2 separate regions of the Homo sapiens genome follow, and region 2 is linked to region 1. Evidence: promoter capture Hi-C in human tissues and cell types (Jung and others, 2019). All regions are on one chromosome and are shown on one strand. The core of a region is centred on a gene start or on the middle of the fragment in contact, and the rest is flanking DNA. Distances in the headings are between cores, read along the strand shown.

What was found. Contacts are between HindIII fragments. The study calls those that stand out against the background at their distance.
Region 2: a fragment that was not itself captured here is called in contact with the fragment with the promoter of ZNF468 in region 1 in 6 of the 25 tissues and cell types used here (H1 embryonic stem cells, adrenal gland, heart left ventricle and 3 more).

The regions. Positions count from the first base shown.
Region 1 is chr19:52,855,631-52,859,323 of GRCh38, reverse strand. ZNF468 (zinc finger protein 468) reads left to right here and starts at 1,705. Exons shown (of 4, transcript NM_001008801.2): 1 at 1,705-1,752. RefSeq lists an enhancer at 2,027-2,106. The HindIII fragment of the contact is 14,237 bases long and covers 1-3,693 here.
Region 2 is chr19:52,671,557-52,675,249 of GRCh38, reverse strand. All of the region lies in intron 1 of LOC122539214 (Zinc finger protein LOC122539214), which reads left to right. It also overlaps a transcript of ZNF83 not described here. Among named protein-coding and RNA genes, the nearest start is that of ZNF83, 35 kb to the right of the region's middle. RefSeq lists an enhancer at 741-1,240. The HindIII fragment of the contact is 8,097 bases long and covers 1-3,693 here.

The sequences.
Region 1 (3,693 bases), core at 456-2,955:
TCACCTCCATTACCAAGTAGAGCCAGGATGAACTATGTGCGACCAAAGACTTGTCAAGTCCTCTTCCCTGAGGACTGATTAGTGTTTATCTTGAAAACATGTACTTAATGGGTTGTATAGAGCAGTGAAGTTTCTCTCTTTTCAACCTCTCAGCTCTTTGCCTGTATTTCCCAACACATTCTGGTCTAAGGCTTATTTACTAATAAAATGGTTTTTATTTCTTCCTGTTTTGTCATGAAGATGATTTCTCATTTTGGGGAAGATTTTTTAGTTTTCAATTGTATTTTTTCAACATTTAAAAAGCGAAGTAAAGAGTATTTCTTGGGCCAGGCACAGTGGCTCACGCCTGTAATCCCAGAACTTCGGGAGGCCGAGGCAGGCGGATCACTTGAAGTCAGGAGTTCGAGACCAGCCTGTCCAACATGATGAAACCCCGTCTGTACCCAAAATACAAAAATTAGCCGGGCATGGTGGGTGTGCCTGTAATGCCAGCTACTCCGGAGGCTGAGGCAGAAGAATCGCTTCAACCCAGGAGGCAGAGGCTGCAGTGAGCCGAGATGTCACCATTGTACTCCAGCCTGGGCGACAGAGAAATACTCAGTCTCAAAAAAAAAAAAAAAAAGAAGAAGAAGAAGAAAAAGAAAAAATGTAAATAAAAAGGAGAAAGTAACAGATCTCTTTTACAAATGTGCTGGGACAACTAACTGGATATCCATATGGAGAAGAGTAATGTTGTATTCCTATCTCACACAAGCAAATTTAGTTTGTTTATTTATTTTTAGAGAGGGAGTCTGGCTCTGTCGCCCAGGCTGGAGTGCAGTGGCTCGGTCTCGGCCCACTGCAAGCTCCACCTCCCATGTTCACCGCATTCTCCTGCCTCAGCCTCCTGAGTAGCTGGGACTACAGGCGCCCGCCACCACGCCCGGCTAATTTTTGTATTTTTAGTGGAGACGGGGTTTCATCGTGTAAGCCAGGATGGTCGCGATCTCCTGACCTCGTGATCCGCCCGCCTCAGCCTCCCAAAGTGCTGGGATTACAGGCGTGAGTCACCGTGCCCGGCCTAATAAAAATTTTATTTTAAAAATTTAAAAAAGAGAGAGACTGCGGGAGGGAATGTTACATTGTCGCGCAGGCTGTCCTGGACCCCCAGGCTGAGCGATCCTCCCGCCGCTGCTTCCTGAGTAGCTGGGACCTCAGGCTCCCACGCCCGCATCCCTGCTGTGTTTAAGCAGCAGGTGGTGACCTCACTCCTCCCTGGCCTGAGCACTCCGTCTGGCATCCCAGGCTGTGGCCCTAGGGATGTCTCTGAAGCTGAGCACTGGGTGGACTCTCCCTCCTGAGTGAATGGAGAATAGAAAGGGAGAAGATTTCTATACTGTCCTGTGGGCCATCAGCATGAAATCCTACGTTCCGCCCAGAAAGGGCTTTGCATTTTACATTCTAGTTTGCATCCTCCTTCCAGACTATTCCAGGGCTTTTGAATTATCCGTCTGCCTTCCTGGGGGCTCTCGCCGCCAAAACCCGGAGAACGGGTTGGGAGGAGGCTGAGAGATGCACAGGTCCCGCTCCGGCCCCGCCCTCTGCGGGTTCTAAAGGGCAAGGTCTCGCCGCTTCGCGCCCCGCCCACACCTCACCCGGGCCCCGCTCGCCTCCTCGTTGGCTCCACCCAGGCCTGGTTTCTGTCCTGCGCGCGCAGATTCGCGCAGACCAGGAAGTGGATCCCGTGGAATGACGGTCACGCCGCGGCGGGCGGTGAGTTTTGCTCTGTGTGGTGTTAAGTCTGAGCTTCCCAGGTCCCCGGCACTTCTGTACATGGGATGTGGGGTCCCCATAGACCTGGAAGTTCTCGCCTTTCTTCCTTCACTCAGAGCAAATGGAGATGTTCTACTGGGAGTCCGGAAGCCCCTTCTTTTTAGGTTTAAAGTCGCCCTGAGGCTGGTCCCGTCCCGGGTCTTTCTGCCATAGGGCAATGTATACGTTTCCTATCGCGTAGTTTTCCTGCTCAAAACCGTTTTTTGACTCCTTCCGCACGGCTCTTTTTAAAGTCCTCACCCTAGAGGTGTATTCCCACCCTGTGCGCCTCCCAGCCTTACTCTCCTGGGTTCCTGGAGCACAGCGCGGCGACCCCAGTCCCGGGAAGGCTGCGTTCTGTGGTCCTGGGATCCTGCGGATCCCACCCTTGTCCGAAGGCGTCGTCGCTCCCCACCTCCCTCCTCCTCTTGCTGGGCCCTGCTGCTCCCCAGATCTCCCCTCCGCAGTCACCGCGTCCCCTGAGCCCTCGTTGGAGAGGTGCCTGGGGCTTGTCCTGTGACGCGGGGTGTTCTTGCCCGCCCAGCTCCAGCACTTGGAAAATGCGCTTCTCCGAGATGCAGGCGTCTTACTCCAAACCCTCTTGTGATCGTGTGGGCCAAAGGGATCAGGAGACAGAGAGAGGGACTGAGAGAGCAGTAGAAAACCTGAGACAGAGAAAAGAAGAATGAGAAAGACCCATAACAGATGGCAAAGTAGAGGATGGGTGAGGGATTTGCCAAGAGACAGCAAAAGTGATAAAAGATAAGAAAGCAGGAGGAGAAAAGCAACTGGAGAAATGTAGAGAAAAGCTAGATGTACAGAGAGATGAAGGACAGCAAGGTAGGGAGAGGGGCAGAAATGTGGAGGCTCATCAGAGTGAGGGAGAGGAGGAGGGATGTGGAGCCGGGTCAGACAGAGCAGAGTGGTGCTGGTGGCAAGGAGAACAGAGGGAGAAGCACAGCGGGGAGGACACCTGGGGATCTGGGGTGCCAGATTGGGTCCAGGGGGTTATAACAGAGAAGAGAGAATTTAACAGGGAGAGCAGAGGAGGCGCATAGATGGGAGAAGAGGCAGAAATCTATGGAGATTGAGGACGATCTAAAGATTGGGGAGAAGGACCAACAGGAGGTTAAATAAGTTGCAAGGATGGAGCCCAGCTAATTTTTGTATTTCTAGTAGAGATAGGGTTTCACCATGTTGGCCAGGTTGGTCTCAAACTCCTGACCTCAGGTAATCCACCCACCTCCACCTCCCAAAGTGCTGGAATTACAGGTGTGAACCACCTCAGCTGTCCACCCATGTATTTCTTGATTGAAATAATTTGCTTATGTCTTGGTTCTACAGCTGACCCTGTTTCCCTGTTTTCAAGGTCAAGAGCTGTGTGTTTACACTGCTGCATTTTATAAATGTTAGTGTGATTTTCTTGTAAGGAAGAATTCAATGTTGGGAGTCAATTTCATCAGAACCTTTCAAAAGAATTTTCTTTAACCCAGGCATGTGAAAAATGCTTCTCTAATTTTAAGAATGGGATGATAAGACCAACCCATCCCATTAGCCCTTCCAGGCCCCCATGTAAGAATTCAGGCACACCTTCTCACTCATCTCAGACCTTCTCAGGGTAACTTCGTGAAAATGTTTCCAGCTCTGAGCCCCAGTGAACCTCCCTGCATCTTTGCGACGAAGGGCTAGACCAGAAAAGCTCAACCTGAGTGATCCTGACCCCTGAAATGATTGGCAAAATAGAGGCGGTGTCTGGGTGTGGCTTTTTTTCTGGTAGAGGAGAGTGCCCAGTTGTAATTAGAATTTTCAGTGGGATGCAGTACCCCAAAAATGAAAAAAAAAAAAGCAGAAGAATGGAAGAAACAGAGCGGTAGACTCAGAAACAGAGAGGATCTTTGGAGG
Region 2 (3,693 bases), core at 827-3,326, 180 kb after region 1:
ATGAACACTGTGGGCCTGGTGTCCTTATTTGAGAAGTAATGTTAATTTGCCCCCAGGTTTTTAAAACAAGTTAATGCTATTAGATGGCTTCAAGTAACGCAAGCTTTATAGTACAGATTCTGAACTTCCTTTGTTTAATAAGATTTGTCAGCCTTCAGTGACATTGGTGATTAGATGCCCCTTTTCCTGTGTCACTCATTTCACTGTCTTGTCAGAAATAGCTTAGAGTAGCTGGCCGTGGTGGCTCATGCCTGTAATCCCAGCACTTTGGGAGCCCAAGGTGGGTAGATCACTTGATGTCAGAAGTTTTAGACCAGCCTGGCCAACAGAGGTTAGCCACTTTTCCCAGCCGGTTTTTTGTTTCTTTGACAAAAACTGATAGGGATTTGTATGGGCGTTGTGTTAAATCTAAATCATCTTGGGTTGTATAATCATTTAACGAGATTAAGTTTTCCAATCTATCAATATTGGTTGTATCTCTATGTTTTTAATCATTTTGATCAATGTTCATAGATTTCAAGGTAGAAACTTCTCGCATTTTTACGTTTATTCCTAAGTATATCTTAGTTTAAATTCTCTAGAAAATGGAAGTGTTTTCTTAATTTCCTTTTAAAATTTTTTACTGTTATTGCATGGAAATTCAACTAATTTTGGTGCTAATATTGTACTCTGCAAATCCACTGAATGTTTATTAGTTCCACTTGTATTTTGGTTGAGTCTTTGTGACTTTCTACACAGAGGATCGTGTCATCTACAAACAAATAAAATTTTATTTATTTCTTTCTGATTTGGATGAGTTTGATTTCTTTTGCTATTTCATTGCTCTGGCTAGGACAGTCAGTATTGATTGAATAGAAAGGGTGAGAACGTTCTAGCATCATGTGAGATCCTACAGGAAAAGCATTCAATTTTTCCTGATTGGTTATTTCAGCTGTGGTCATTTCATGGATGGTCTTTTATATTGTTGAGGTAAATTTCCTTCTTTATTTTGTTTAGGGTTTCTATGATGACAGGATGGTCCTAAGTCTTCACACATCAGGGCCACAGCCCCAACCTCACAGGAAACAGGTGATCTTTTGAAAGGCTTAAGGCCCAAGAGTTCATTTGAGGGCTTTTTAACCTGTGGATTTGGTCTAGAGCCATATCAGAGGGTTGTGTCTGTGTGAGTGTGCAAATGTGTGGTGCTTTCCAAGTTCAGTTGACATTGGTAATTTTTTTTTTTTTTTTTTTTTTTGAGATGGAGTCTCACTCTGTTACCCAGGCTGCAGGGCAGTGGCATGATCTCGACTCACTGCGGCCTCCACCTCTCAGCTTCAACCAATTCTCCTGCCTCAGCCTCCCTAGTAGCTGGGATTACAGGCACACACCACCAGGCCCGGTTAATTTTTTGTATTTTTAGTAGAGATAGGGTTGCACCATGTTGACCAGGCTGGTCTCGAACTTTTGACCTGAGGTGATTGGCCCACCTCAGCCTCCCAAAGAGCCACTGCTCCTGGCCTAATAATTTTTTATTTATTTATTTTTTTGAGTTGGAGTCTCACTCTGTCACCCAGGCTAGAGTGCAGTTGCATGATCTCTGTCTCCAGAAAAAACAAAAAACAAAAAGATAATATTTGCATCGTTATTGGCTCATTTTTGATTACTTGGGAAAACAGCTTTCAAAAGCTTAAGGTTTTTAAATACATGTGACTTTCTATATTTTTTTTCTGATGTTCTGTTTATAGCATTTTGTGTGTGTGTGTGTGTGTGATGGAGTTACACTCTTCTTGTGTACCCTGGAGTGTAGTGGTGCGATCTCAGCTCACTGCAACCTCTGCCTTCTTGGCTCAAATGATTCTCCTGCCACAGCCTCCTGAATATCTGAGATTACAGGCATGCGCCATCACCCTCGGCTAATTTTGTATTTTTTTAGAGACAGGGTTATACCATGTTGGTCAGGCTGGTCTCGAACTCTTGACCTCAGGGGATCCACCCATCTTGGCTCCCAAAGTGCTGGGATTCAAGCATGAGCCACTGTGCCCAGCCATTTGTTTAGTTTTTTGAGATGGAGTCCAGCTCTTTCGCACAGTCTGGAATGCAGTGGTGCAATCTCCACTCACTGCAACCTCTGCTCCCTGGGTTTAAGTGATTCTCATGCCTCAGTCTCCTGAGTAGCTGGGATTACAGGCTCACATCCAGTTTTTTTTGTATTTTTGGTAGAGACAGGGCTTATAGGTTTGAGCCACCACACCTGGCCATCCCCATTTTTATATGTACAATTTAATCATTGACTACAGTCATTCTGTTGTGTTATGAAATAATAGGTCTTATTCTATTTTTTGTACCCATTATCATGTTCTATTTATTAATTATTTCTGATTAAAATAAACTTTTTTGCCATGCACGGTGGCTCATGTCTGTAATCCCAGCACTTTGGAAGGTCAGGATTTGGAGACCAGCCTGGCCAACACGGTGAAACCCCGTCTCTACTAAAAATACAAAAATTAACCCAGCATGATGGCGAGCACCAATAATCCCAGCTACCTGGGAGGCTGAGGCAAGAGAATCATTTGAACCCAGGAGGCAGATGTTGCAGTGAGCCGAGACCGTGCCATTGCACCCCAGCCTAGGCAACAAGAACCAAACTCAATCTCAAAAATAAATAAGTAACTTAATTAATTTTTAAAACATAAAGATGAGGTGCTATGTTGCCTAGGCTGGACTCCAACTGTTGGGCACTAGCCATCCTCCTGCCTCAGCCTCCCATCATGCTCGGATTACAGGCACAAGCCACCATGCCTGACGACATTATGCTTTTTTAAACTTGCTAATATTCTAGATATGCTAATTTCCCTTCTAAATGTAATCATATTTTAGCTAATTACTAGTGTTTGATAGATGAATTCTTCCATAGCTAGGGATGTGGGAGAAAAACATAGTTCATAGTACATGTTAACTTACAGATATAGTCATAAAAGTATTACATGCAGAAATGAGGTGATTTATAATTTCATTTTATTTTTATTTTTATTTTTTTGAGACAGAATCTCACTCTTTTGCTCAGGCTGGAGAGCTGTGGTGAGATCTTTGCTCACTGCAACCTCTGCCTCCTGGATTCAAGAGATTCTCCTGCCTCAATCTCCTGAGTAGCTGAGATTACAGTTTTGTGCCACCTTACCCAGCTAATTGTTGTATTTTTAGTACAGATGGGGTTTCACCATGTTAGCCAGGCTAGTCTCAATCTCCTGACCTCTGGGTCATCCACCTGCCTCGACCTCCCAAAGTGCTGGGATTACAGGTGTGAGTCAATGTGCCCAGCCAATTTTATAACTTAGTTATATTTTTTCAGGGCCCAAGTAAAACGGAATAACTTGACTGCAATGTATTCTTAGTAATATTTCATGATCTTTCTCTATATGAAAATAAATCCTAACATTTAAAGACTGCATATTTTATAGCCTTTGTTATTCCCACCTGATAGAACACTCAGGAGAGAATAACAAAGAAAACACCTAAAATAGATTGCAATTGGATGGGTGTGGTGGCTTGCCTGTAACCCCAACACTTTGGGAAGCAAAGGTGGGTTGATCGCTTGAGTCCAGGAGTTGAAGGCTAGCCTGAGCATCATAGTGGGACCACCCCTCTACAAAGTACTAACAAATTAGCCAGGCTTGGTGGTGAGGGCCTGCAGCTCCAGCTAGTTGGGAGGTGTGG